Linked DNA regions of Homo sapiens: region 2 is linked to region 1. The links are contacts of gene promoters, found by promoter capture Hi-C in blood cells and fetal thymus (Javierre and others, 2016). All regions are on one chromosome and are shown on one strand. The core of a region is centred on a gene start or on the middle of the fragment in contact, and the rest is flanking DNA. Distances in the headings are between cores, read along the strand shown. Region 1 holds the start of PXN (paxillin). Region 2 overlaps GCN1 (GCN1 activator of EIF2AK4).

The links. The method cuts DNA at HindIII sites, captures the fragments that hold promoters and counts their contacts. A CHiCAGO score of 5 or more calls a contact.
Region 2: a fragment that was not itself captured here is called in contact with the fragment with the promoter of PXN in region 1 in 1 of 17 cell types (endothelial precursors); the score reaches 5.2 in endothelial precursors.

The regions. Positions count from the first base shown.
Region 1 is chr12:120,263,534-120,267,254 of GRCh38, reverse strand. PXN (paxillin) reads left to right here and starts at 1,525. Exons shown (of 15, transcript NM_001385981.1): 1 at 1,525-1,638. The coding sequence starts at 1,626. RefSeq lists silencers at 1,218-1,497, 1,658-1,807. The HindIII fragment of the contact is 6,296 bases long and covers 1-3,721 here.
Region 2 is chr12:120,151,888-120,155,248 of GRCh38, reverse strand. GCN1 (GCN1 activator of EIF2AK4) reads left to right here. Exons shown (of 58, transcript NM_006836.2): 30 at 1-8; 31 at 209-279; 32 at 1,340-1,505; 33 at 1,842-2,036. Among named protein-coding and RNA genes, the nearest start is that of MIR4498, 1.9 kb to the left of the region's middle. The HindIII fragment of the contact is 3,218 bases long and covers 316-3,361 here.

The DNA.
Region 1 (3,721 bases), core at 276-2,775:
AAAAATACAAAAATTAGCCAGGCATGGTAGTACACGCCTGTAATCCCACCAGGAGGCAGGAGATCACCTGAGATCAGGAGTTCAAGACCAGCCTGGCCAACATGGTGAAACCCCATCTCTACTAAAAATACAAAAATTAGCCAGGCATGGTGGTATGCGCCTGTAATCCCAGCAGGAGGCAGGAGAATCACTTGAACCTGGGAGGCGGAGGTTGCAGTGAGCTGAGATTGCACCACTGCACTCCAACCTGGGCGACAGATTGGGACTCCATCTCAAACAAAAACAAAAACACAAAAACTAAAACAAAATAGAGGTATGTGCAAGATGCTGGAAAACCACGCAATAGAGTGTTTGAGGAACAGTCTTTGGTCTTGAATTTATTATAGGAGAATGTGGCAGCCACAGAAGCTGCTTGGATCTGCCTTTATAAAATGACTGAACATGGTGGGAGCATTGGAACCCGGATACTTCTGCCCAAGGAGACTTCTCATTTTTTTTGTCCTGGAATTCCCTGATGGGTTGACCTGTTTGTCAGATCTGAGTCTCCTTGCCCAACCCTGCTTATTTCCCCTTCTCTGTCACGGGCATTACCCCTAGCTTTATCTCAGCATCTCATCTGCTTTCTGGAGGACCTGATCTGACCCAGAAGGCCTGGATTCTTGAGGGACAAGGGGAACTCGAAGCTGTACTTGCAGAGCAGTTTTATATAAAATCCACAAACTGCCATCACCCATCCCAACGGGTAGGGAAGTACCTCTAGGAGGATTAATTTAGAGAATAGCTATATAGTGTCTGTCTATTCAGACACTCAATAAATGGTAGTTGTTATTATTACCCAATTTCCGAGTGTGTGGGAGCACTGGGTGTGACTTTCCTGTAGTTTTCCCTTTAATGTCTAATCTGGGGACCCCTCTGCCCCATGCAGTTTTGGAAAAGTGTCTAGGGAGGGTGGCTGTGTGGAAGTAATATTAAGAGAGATGGAACCACACAGGTATTGGGTTTGGGCCAGAAAGGGTGAACTGCGAGCTGCACTGCCATTGATCCAGAGGACGACCCCAGGAAAGGTCAGCCACGGGCTCCGGGCCTTGCCTGGTACTGATTTATGGTCCTCCTGGGTGGTGACCTACAGGTGACAGACGGACAGGTGGGCAAAACTGACTGTCCAGTGGACAGGCATGTGATGACCCAGTGGCTGACGAATGCACAGACACATGGCTGACTGTGGACGGATTTGTCATCCGCAGGGTCAGGCAAGTGACTTTGAGAGGGACAGAAAGATGGATGGGAGTGGCTGGAGGCCTGGGAGCCGCCCACCTGCCCGCTTAGCCGCGAGGGGGCGCCACCGCCCCGCCCAGCGACGCCCACTGCCCGGGCTCTTGGCGGGGGCGGGACCAGCGTGCGCAGGGGGCGGGGCCAGCAAGCTCGCGGGGGTGTCCGGGGGCGGGGCGCGCGTGCACAGGGGGCGGCCGGGGGCGGGGCGCGCGGCGGGCGCGGGCGCGGGCGCGCGCGGCGGCGGCGCGTTCCGTTCCGGGCCGAGGCTCGCGGCGGAAAAGTTGCGGGGCATAGACGAGCGGCCCCGGGACGGGCAGCTAGCGCGACCCTGAGCCGGCGCCCGTGGTCCGGCCATGGACGACCTCGGTGAGTGAGCGGGAGGCCGAGGGAGGAGGAGGCGAGAGGCGCGCAGCTTGGGGCCAGGAGGGCGCCAGCGAGCGGCAGGGGCCGCGGGATCCCACCCTCGGCGGCCCCGGCCTCAGCTCCTGTCCCTGCCGGCCGGGGCTCCGCGGGGCTGGGATCCCTAACCGGGCCTTAGTCTCGGGCCAGGCCGGCCCCGGCACCGACCGCACAGCAGCGACCCCCCGTCTGGGACGGCTTCACCTCTGGACCCCCGACCTCGGGGACCCATCACCATCTCCCAGAAGGGCCCCAGGGACCAGCCCGCCCCTCAGGGACCCACCCCGTCCGCTGCAGGGACGAGACTTCCTGCGGCAGACCACCTCGTCAGCTACGGGACCCTCACCTCGCAGACCTCTCCCCACCCCCACCTCACAGATCGACCGCCCAACTCGGGGAGCAGCTGCCCGATCTCATGGGCTGCTCCCTCATTTCCTCGACCTGCTCCCCGTCCCTCCAGGGCCGCCCCCCACTTCACAGACTAGCACCCCCCTTCAGGGATAACCCCTCGGAGCCCACCCCTTTCATTTCACAAGTCAGATGCAAAAGCTAGAGATGAGCGTGTGATGACCACACCCCCATTTCAAAGACAAGTTTCCCAGTCTGCCTGCTCTTCTGACCCCCCACTTCAAATCTGGTCACCCCGTTTCAAGGACCCATCACTCATTTTCTCTCACTGACCTCCCCGCTCTGTGGACCAGCCCCTCAATTCACAGACCAGTCCGTCTACCATGGTATCTAAGTCTAGAACGGTAATTTGGGAGTCCTGATTCTCTCCCCACCCCTAGATTCTGGTGAAATGCCAGGGGAATGAGGTGGAAGGTGGGCCCCAAGGTATGACCATCCCTGAACGTGTCCTGGCTAGCAGAGTCCCCTCCACCCTCTCTGCGTCAGGCCCTGCTGGAAGCCACGCAGGTGAAAGAGGACAGGATGCCCAGAACAGAGTTTTACTGTTTTCCTGTTATTGGAGCCCCAAGGCTACTCTTTTCAGTCCAGTCTTGATCTGGTGTTAGGGGAAAGAAAGTATCTCCTGGAAGCCGACTCTAAACCCAAGGGGGTTGGTGCCAGGGTTCTAGGAATGCCTTGGGTGGCGTGAACGCAGGAGTGGGAGGATTCGCTGTCTCTCCCTCCCCTTCACGCCTGTAGCTGGAGGGCCCTGAGCTTGGGAGGTGAGGAGGGGGGCAACGTTTCTTCTCTGCAGGAGCCTTGTCTTTCCTCTCTGGACTGTGGGTGGCTTGTGTGACCACTGATGCTTCCTCTGTCCCAGGCTCTGAGGAGTAGATTCAGCAGACAGGACTGATGGACCTCTACCAAGCAGCGCCGGGCACTAAGTTAAGACTGGCTATTTGTAGGTGCTGGACTTGACTGCTTCCCTCCAGCTTCCTTTTGGGATCAGGGTGCCCCTGAGATCCTGGAGCTGGGGTTGGTGTAGGGTCCTGCCTGTTTTGCAGAGTGAGATGGCTGCCAAGCGTGGTTCTGCCTTTGGGTCAGGCTTGGCACCCATTTTTCCAGTGTGCTCAAGGTTGGCATGGCTTCCAGGCAGGTATTTTTTTTTTTCACATAAAAATAGCTCAGCTGGAAGGAGGCTGGGGGATGTTCTTTGAACCAGGATCTAAGAGTCTGAGTGCTTTCCCAGTGGGAACTGGGAGCAAAGTTACAGTTTCTAAAGTGCTGGTGCAGTTCTGTTGCTTCTCGGCAGTCCCCGTGCTGTTTCAAGGACTGAGAAAGTCTTTGTAGAGCTCGCCATCGAAATCTGGAATTCCTGTCTTCTGACAGTCTTCCATTTAGGGCCAGGAAACTGAGTTCTGAAAGGAAAGAGAGTACTGTATACGGGAGAGGGGATTGTAGGGATTTAAATTGCTGTTTGTGGAGTACTTCCCTCTACCTCGATTTGTGATATCCTCACAACAACCCTTTTATCAGATTCCACCTTAAAGCCAATGCTGTCATGACCACCTGCCTTTTTACAGATTGAGAAAGCCGAGACGAAGAGAGGCTGATTCTCTTGCCCAAGGCTGCACAGCCATGAAATGACAAAACCATAACTGGA
Region 2 (3,361 bases), core at 675-3,174, 110 kb after region 1:
AGCTCTACGTGAGTGACCTGTGCAGCCCTGATGCAGTCTGGGTGTGTGCGGTTGGGTGGGTCTCTGCTCACCCCGCTACTGCTCCAGACAGGAATCTCGGGGCTCACGGTGGCTCAGGGTAGCTGCGGCTAGTTTCCTGCCTCACAATCCTGGTGCCCAGGTCATTGATCTGCCCGTTGCAAAGCATTTACCAACTTGTCTGTTGCAGCGGCCGCCCCCAGTGCTGGATGCTTTGGGACGAGTTATTTCAGAATCTCCTCCAGATCAGTGGGAAGCCAGGTATAACAATTGTTCAGCCTCGTTCTACTCCAAGCTTTGTGAGATGTGGCAGGTTGGCTGGGTGGGTGCTGTGAGGAGGCAGCATGGGTTAATGAAAGAGCAGGACCTCCCTCAGAGTCGGGGAGGCCTGAGTTCCATCAGCCCCTGGAAGGGGTGGGATTGGACCGTGTGAGGCACCATCTTTCAGAAGAGCCTCTGACCTGCCTCCTCACCTCTCTCTAGGCTGTACTGTCCAAGATGTAGCCACTAACCGCATGTGGCTAAAGTTAAATCAATTAAAATGAACTCTAAGTAAGTTCCTTAGAGTGTCCTCTCCTGCACTAGCTGCGTGACCGTGAGCGTGTTTCTCCTTTTCCCCAGGCCTCTGTTTCCTCATCTATATGCAGGGCACAATAACAGAAGCTACCAGCCTTTCTCCACAGAGCCCATGAGTAGCAGTTGGAGGATTAGACAGATGTCTGGGAGCAACTGGGACATTGAAAGACACTTGCCTCCCACAGAGCAGGCTCAAAACACGCAAGGGTGTTAGTTCTCTGAATGGCTCATCCTGGCCGTGTCCACTCCCGTGAGGCCTTGTGTGTCAGTGTAGGGTGGTGTATGGGCCCATCCTGGCTTATTTTTCATTCCAGACCATCAGCCAGGGATAGGACACAGATTCTTTGCTCCATGACTGGAAAGAGTAACAACACTTTGCCCTTGGAGAATGTGTTCACTTCCACAGGCCTCTACATCTGGTTCTTTTACCTCTGTGTTCTCTTACAACCTGCTTTGCAGGTAGAGGGGTGAGCATTGCACTCACATTCCTCTCTGGGGAAACCAACACAGGGCTGGTCACCCAGTAGGAGGTAAAATCAGGGCAGATGGCAAGTCTCCATATGACAAGTGGGTTGTTCCAGAACATTGGGTGAGCACTGGGTGGTGGGCTTCAGGCTGTTCTCTGCCCCCAAAACAGTGTTTGCCTCAGGCAAGCTCCCTCTCCTTGCCGTGCACCAGCAGAGGTTCCACTGGCAGAGGAGGCCCCCTGACTGCCCCTCCTGATGTGCTCCCACTTCTTTCCCAGGTGTGGCTTGGCGTTGGCCCTCAACAAGCTCTCCCAGTATTTGGACAGCTCTCAGGTGAAGCCACTCTTTCAGTTTTTTGTCCCTGATGCCCTCAATGACCGACACCCAGATGTCCGGAAGTGCATGTTGGATGCAGCCCTCGCAACGCTCAACACTCATGGGAAGGTAAGGGGGTCCCAGCCAGGGAACACCCACGGGAAGGTAAGGGGGTCCCAGCCCGCTAAGGAGACACGGGAGGCAGGCGCTAGGGCTGAGCAGGGGCCAGAAATGCTGAGTGCCAAGAGTCCTGGCAGAGCACTTTGAGCCAAAAAGACCATGATAGTGTGTTAAATTCTTTTAAGTCTGTGGCAGTCCTGCCAGAAAACTGGAAGAGCCACTGGCTGGCATGTCAGGATGCCTGTCCCAGAGCTAGACTTGGTCTTGGTCCTCAGGGCAGGGACTGTTGTCCCCAGATGCAGCCTGTAGGGTTGACCTGAGGCTCTGAGGGGTTTGGCTTTCCAGGAGAACGTCAACTCGCTGTTGCCAGTATTCGAGGAGTTCCTGAAGAACGCGCCCAATGATGCCAGCTATGATGCTGTGCGACAGAGTGTGGTGGTCCTGATGGGCTCTCTGGCCAAGCACCTGGACAAGAGTGACCCCAAAGTGAAGCCCATTGTTGCCAAGCTCATCGCTGCCCTCTCCACCCCCTCCCAGCAGGTACCTGCCATCTGGCCTGGGACCCACATGTCGGTTAGAGAATTGGGACCCGGCTGTGGTTAGGCGGTGGGATACTAGGGGTGGAGTTGGACAATCAGGGCCCTGAAAGCCCAGTTCTTGTTAAGGATTCACCCCCTCTCGCAGGGGAGAGCCTGGTTTATAGTCAGGAACACTCCTGGAGAGGGAGTTTCTTTGTTACTTTGTTCTAGTAGACCTCCCAGATAGTTTCATTTTTTTCTACTCACCTGGTTTATAGTGAAGAATGCCCCTGGAGAGGGAGTTTCTTTGTTACTTTGTTCTAATAGACCTCCTAGATAGTTCCATTTTTTCTATTCACTAACGTGCACTGGGAATCCAAAGGGAAAAAAAATAAAAGGTCAGGCTTTCTCTTATGTCAAGCCTTTTTCTGGCCCTCTACATGTGTTGGTTGTGTGTTACAGGTGCGTTTTAATGTAGCCTCTAAGCTACAGTGCAAATAAATTTCTTTTTCTTTGTTTTGAAAAACACGCATGTATGTATATATAAATATATATATATTTATATATATATATTTTGTGTGTGTGTGTGTGTGTGTGCGCGTGTGTGTGTGGTTTGCATTTTGGACCACTTAGAGTGTCTTCATAAAGTGAACAGTTGGGCTGGGCGTGGTGGCTCATGCCTATAATCCCAGTGCTTTAGGAGGCTACAGGTGCGTTTTAATGTAGCCTCTAAGCTACAGTGCAAATAAATTTCTTTTTCTTTGTTTTGAAAAACACGCATGTATATATATATAAATATATATATATTTATATATATATATTTTGTGTGTGTGTGTGTGTGTGTGCGCGTGTGTGTGTGGTTTGCATTTTGGACCACTTAGAGTGTCTTCATAAAGTGAACAGTTGGGCTGGGCGTGGTGGCTCATGCCTATAATCCCAGTGCTTTAGGAGGCTGAGGTGGGAGGATTGCTTAAGGCCAGTAGTTCGAGACCAGCCTGGGCAACATAGTGAGATCCTGTCTCTACAAAAACTTTAAAAATTAGCCAGAGGTGGAGGCCATGCCTGTGTTCCTAGCTACTCAGGAGACCGAGGCAATAGGATTGCTTGAGTCCAGGAATTCAAGGTTATAGTGAATTATGATTGTGCCACTGCACTGTAGCCTGGGTGACAGAGTAAGACCCTATTTCTAAAAACAAAAACAAAAAACAACAAAAAACTTTACCAAAAAAATGCACAGTTGAAAACCAGTTTCCAAAATTGTGGTCAAATATGGTGTCAGAAAGCCTAAGCAGCAAAAGAGTCGCACCTGGGCACCTGCCAGCATGGCCTCGGGGTTGCTGCTCCCAA